2 separate regions of the Homo sapiens genome follow, and region 1 is linked to region 2. The links are contacts of gene promoters, found by promoter capture Hi-C in human tissues and cell types (Jung and others, 2019). All regions are on one chromosome and are shown on one strand. Each heading gives the region's core, a stretch centred on a gene start or on the middle of the fragment in contact. The rest is flanking DNA. Distances are from core to core; before and after follow the strand shown.

Evidence for each region. The method cuts DNA at HindIII sites, captures the fragments that hold promoters and counts their contacts. A contact is called where the count stands out against the background at its distance.
Region 1: a contact is called between the fragment with the promoter of DDB2 here and a fragment that was not itself captured in region 2, in 1 of the 25 tissues and cell types used here (small bowel).

Annotation. Positions count from the first base shown.
Region 1 is chr11:47,213,573-47,216,344 of GRCh38, forward strand. DDB2 (damage specific DNA binding protein 2) reads left to right here and starts at 1,402. Exons shown (of 10, transcript NM_000107.3): 1 at 1,402-1,691; 2 at 2,764-2,772. The coding sequence starts at 1,565. RefSeq lists enhancers at 6-842, 843-1,678, 885-1,124, 966-2,165, 1,455-1,734 and a silencer at 1,195-1,404. The HindIII fragment of the contact is 25,797 bases long and covers 1-2,772 here.
Region 2 is chr11:46,878,077-46,880,921 of GRCh38, forward strand. LRP4 (LDL receptor related protein 4) reads right to left here. Exons shown (of 38, transcript NM_002334.4): 21 at 1,050-1,239; 22 at 831-962. Among named protein-coding and RNA genes, the nearest start is that of LRP4-AS1, 33 kb to the left of the region's middle. The HindIII fragment of the contact is 9,427 bases long and covers 1-2,845 here.

The DNA.
Region 1 (2,772 bases), core at 152-2,651, 340 kb after region 2:
CAGCACTTTGGCAGACCGAGGTGGATGGATGCCAGGAGTTCTAGACCAGCCTAGGCAACTTAGGGAGACTCTGTCTCTACAAAAAATGCAAAAATTAGCTGAGTGTTGCGGCGCGCACCTGTAGTCCCAGCTACTCGGGAGGCTGAGGTGGGAGGATCGATGTCCAGGAAGTCCAGCCTGCATTGAGCCCACATCCTGCCACTGCACTCCAGCCTGGGTGACAGAGAGAGGCCCTGTCTCAAAAAAAAAAAAAAAAAAAAGAAAGAGAGAAAGAAAGAAAGAAAAAATAAAAACAGCCAACGACCAAACAAATAAAAGAGCAGTGAGAACCAGACACGGTGGCTCATGCCTGTAATCCCAGCACTTTGGGAGGCAGAGGCAGGAGGATCACTTGAGCCCAGGAGGTCCAGACCAACGTGGGAAACATAGCAAGACCTTGTCTCTACAAAAATAAAAATAAAAAAATTAGGCTTGGGGATACAGGTCTGCAAGCCTACTTGGGAGGCTGAGGTGGGAGGATCAGTGAAACTTGAGGTCAAGGCTGCAGTGAGCTGTGATTACATCACTGCACTCCAGCCTGGGTAACGGAAGAGAGACACTGCCTCTAGGAAAAAAAAAAAAAAAAAAAAAAAAAGGCAAGGAGTTCCAATCATTCTCCCTTCACAGAGAAGCAGCTTGGATTCGATGGGACTGTAGTTTCTGGAATCCGACTGCAAAGCTGACCGCTGGTAGAGCCCAGCTTCTAACTTAGGAAAGGCACTAGCTCTCTACAAAGCCGCCACTCCCCAACTACACCCTGTAGGGACCAGCCAATCCCAAAGCCCGAGCGGGCGTCATCACCAATTGCAAGGCGGGAGACAGAGCCTTGGCTGGCACCGGGCCTCCTCCCCGGACCCGCAGAGGCCTGGCAGCGCCGCGTTTGAGGAGGGTTCGTGTCAGGAAGTCAAGGCTGGATGATCGCTTAAGCCCAGGAGTTAAAGACCGGCCCGGACAACAAAGCGAGACCCCGTCTCTCCAGAAAAAGAAAAAAAGAGAGAGAGAGAGAGAAATTAGCCGGGCGTGGTGGCGTACGCTTGTAGTCCCATCTACTTAGGAGGCTGAGGTGGGAGGATCGCTTGAGCCCAGGAGGTGGAGGCTGCACTGAGCTATGATCGCCCCACTGCCCTCCAGAGTGAGCGACAGAGCCAGACCCTGTTGCTAAAAAAAAAAAAAAAATCCATAAAGCCGGGGACCATCTTTGCTCCAGGGAGGTCAGCTGACCCGGGCTGGCACTGGCCCTGGCGCAGTTCCCGCCCCTCCCGGGAGCGCTGGCACCGCCCCTTGGCACCACCCCCTCCCCGCGCCCCCGCCTTCCAGGAAGGGGCGGGGTCTCCGAGACGGGTGGGGCCGGAGCTCCAAGCTGGTTTGAACAAGCCCTGGGCATGTTTGGCGGGAAGTTGGCTTAGCTCGGCTACCTGTGGCCCCGCAGTTTTGTAGTCCCCGCCTTGTTTCTCCCCAGAGGCCTCTCAATCCTCCCTCCATGATCTTCGCATAGAGCACAGTACCCCTTCACACGGAGGACGCGATGGCTCCCAAGAAACGCCCAGAAACCCAGAAGACCTCCGAGATTGTATTACGCCCCAGGAACAAGAGGAGCAGGAGTCCCCTGGAGCTGGAGCCCGAGGCCAAGAAGCTCTGTGCGAAGGGCTCCGGTACTGCCTGTGCCTGCTGCTTGAATATTTCCGCCTTTTAGGGTGCTCGCGCAGGAGGCTGCAGCGGGGGATGGGTGCTCCGAGGCTCCCGAGGCCCGCGCAGGTCACGGGTGCCTCCGGCTGTGCATTCTACCTGCAGGTCCTTTGACACCAGAGTGTTTAGGTTTCAACACCTCTCCCGCTAGGTAACAGGAAGCAGATGAGCTCCGTAACAACAGACACACGGACTTGTCAGATTCCTTGTTCGTATCAGGGTTCTTGCACAGTTAGGACGGCTTCAGAGAATCCTACCTTTCCTGGCGCTGTGTGTGCTGGATTTCATAGTCACGCTTGTTAGCTGCACGTCCTCGGTGGTCAGTTGTGAGAGCCCCCAATTCCTTCCTCCTTAGAAAGCTCATTCTCTGAGGTTTACTGGGGCTTGAACCTGGGGCTATAAGGAGTTTCGAGACACTCAAAAACGAGCTGGGGCTTGTTAATCAAGTGGTTTTTGTCCATGAGAAGAAAGAATTGGTTGTCAAGACGTCGGACCTATAGTGATTGGGTCCTCAAATACAGTTTGGTGATCAGGAGTTGTTGCTTTATTGCTATTCTAATTTCACTTACCTCCCCAGAAGTAACCTAGTTAAGAGCATTTCCAGGCCTTCCTATTCCTTCTTTTCCTAAACGGTGACTTCTGCCATGCTGCCCTAAAATCTTTTTATTGTGCATTATATGTGATTTATAAAATTGTGACCCAGTCCCATCTCGAGTTTTGCAGCCCAAACTGGGAAGAGTTCTGCATTGTACTTTATCCTTGTGTGTTTCTTTGGCTGGGGTCTCAGGAACCCTGCACGACTGTATTTACTTTCACTTCAGACTTACTGTTTGTGGGAGTGTTTTGGGGAAGGGGCCAAATCCTCACTCATTTTTTTATTTCTGGTGCTCGTTGAGACCACACAGACATGGAAAGGCCGCAGGAGGTGATGAGACAGAGATTAACCGTGCCGAATGAAACAAGGCTTCCTTTCGGGGAATTCAGCAGAAAAACCTTTCGTGAGATTGGAGAGGAAAATATGTCTGTTCTGCTTGGCAGGTCCTAGCA
Region 2 (2,845 bases), core at 79-2,578:
CCTGCAGCATCTCCTAGGGAGAAGCCTTGACTTCCGACATCTGGGTAGCCAGGTACTGCTTCTGGGACCCTCCAATAAGGTTGTCACATAGGTTGTGCACTCACAAAAGTGGCACATCTAAGGAGGAGGGTACTGTGACATTGTAGATATCATACATTTCTGTTTTTATTATACCAATTTTGGGCAGTTAGAAGTGTCTTTTTTTTTTTTTTTTTTTTTTTGAGACAGAGTCTCACTCTGTCACCCAGGCTGGAGTGCAGTGGCGTGATCTCTGCTCACTGCAACCTTCACCTCCCAGGTTCAAGCAATTCTTCTGCCTTAGCCTCCCAAGTAGCTGGGATTACGCGCCACCATGCCTGGCTAATTTTTGTATTTTCAGTAGAGACGAGGTTTCACCATGTTGGCCAGGTTGGTCTTGAACTCCTGACCTCTAGTGATTTGCCTGCCTTGGCCTCCCAAAGTGCTAGGATTACAGGCATGAGCCACCGTGCCCAGCCAGAAGTGTCTTATTCCAACCAAATCAGTATATTATGACAATGTACTAAGAGATGAGAGGAAAGTGTCTTGAGAAAGGAGCATCTTTATCTAATATGCATGAAGACATCATAAGAACTAGTTGGACCCTGCCTCCAGTCCTTTCTACTTGCTCCCCAGGGCCTCTCCCCAGGCCCGTCCCCTTTTCTAAAAGCCGTGAGTCTCTCCCCTGGGCCTCTAGAAGCAGCAGGACTCATGGTTTCTCAGACCACATTGGAGCCCATCTGCAAGGAAGGAAGAGAGCCATTGCCCCCTCCCAGAGAGGCTGCATCTAGATCTGTGATGCTTTCACTCACCTGGTGAGCAGGTCTTGCCATCAGACAGCAGGTTGATGCCTGTGGGGCAGGTACAGCTGAATCCGCTTGGATTTGGGGACCTAAGACACAGGTGGCTACAGCCGCCATTCTCCATAGCACATGGTGTAGACACTGGGTAGAGAGGAGGGGATGTTCAATGGGGAGAGCTAGGGCATAGGAGGGCCACGGAGAAGCCAATGCGAGCCAAGGGCTGCTCACCTGGGGGCCGGCGGCGGTGGAAGACATGGATGTCCATTAGGTTTTCCAGGTTCTCCTGCAGAGTCTCCCGGTCCAGCCCTGTCAGCCGGTCAGCGCTCTGTATGCTCTTGGTCTGCCAGTCAGTCCAATAGATGCGCTCTCCATAGAGGGTCAGCCCAAATGGGTGGGGGAGCTGGCTTCCAATCAGCACCTGCCAGGGCCCCAACACTGTGTCATCTTCAACAAAGTCTGACAGTACAGAGCAGTGGCAAAGAGCTCACTGTGGACTCAGAAAGCAGCTCTCCCACTAACACCTACTGGGTGACCTCCAGTAAGAGCTACTTATAAAATCTCTCTGAGCCTTGCTCTATCAATCTGTGACTTGATCATGCCTGGCTCTAAGGGTCGTGTGATGGTTTTATTGGAAGATGTTGGAAGTCATCTATTACTCACATCATCTCAAAGTATCTCTGGACAAATTACTTATTAAGTACAAAATTAAAAAATAGCAACTTTACAGTGGACACTACCTTAACCATACAATGGCAGTAAGTATCACAATAACGGAACAGGCCAACACCTGTGTCTACTGATGAGACACACTGAGAACTCAAGGACATGACTTCACTTAGTGTAGTATTCCTGCTGCAAATGCACACTCTGAATCCAATCACAAGGAAACATTAGATAAATCCAAGTTGAGAGACATTATAAAAAATAACTGGCCTTTACTCTTTAAAAATGCAAATGTCCACTTTGGGAGGTCCAGGTGGGCAGATCACCTGAGGTCAGGAGTTCGAGACTAGCCTGGCCAACATGGCGAAACCCTGTCTCTACTAAAAATACAAAAATTAGCTGGGCGTGGTAGCGGGTGCCTATAATCCCAGCTACTTGGGAGGCTGAGGCAGGAGAATTGCTTGAACCCGGGAGACAGAGATTGCAGTGAGCTGAGATCGCACCATTGCACGCCAGTCTGGGCGACAGAGCAAGACTCTTGTCTCAAAACAAAACAAACAAACAAAAAATGCAAATGTCAATAAAGTCACAGAAAAGCTGAGGAAATGTTCCAGATTAGAGAGTAAAGAGACTAGATTAGTTGGGCCCGGTGGCGCACAGCTCCAGCTACTCAGGAGCCTCAGATGGGAGGATCACCTGAGCCCAGGTCAGCATGGGCAACACACCAAGACTGCAGTCTCAAAAAAAAAAAAAAAAAAAGCTATGTGTGGTGGCTCATGCCTATAAACCCAACACTTTGGGAGGTCAAAGCAGGAGGATTGCTTGAGCCTAGGAGTTCAAGACTAGCCTAGACAACAAAGTGAGACCCCCATCTCTACAAAAAATAAAAAAATCAGCCGAGTGGCCTCAAACCCGTAGGCTCCTGAGTAGCTAGGGTGCAGTAGTAGGTGCCTGTGGTCCCAGCTACGTGGGAGGATCCCTTGGGCCAGGAGGTCGCAGTTACAGTGGGCCATGTTTGTGGCACTACACTCCTGCCTGGGCCACGGAGTGAGTGTCTAAAAATAAATAAATAAATAAAAATTAAAAGAGACGTAATTACTAAACACAATGGGTGATCCTGATTGGATCCTAGATTAACAAAGAAAAAAAGTGGGGTGGGAGGAGCTATAAAGGACATCACTGAGGCAATTGGTAGTGAAATTGGGCAAGGACTATGATTAGACAGTAATATTGGGCCGGGCATGGTGGCTCGTGCCTATAATCCCAACACTTTGGGAGGCTGAGGCAGAAGGATCGTTTGAGGCCAGAAGTTTGAGACTAGCCTGGGTAATACAGGAAGTCTCTACCAAAAAAAAAGAAAA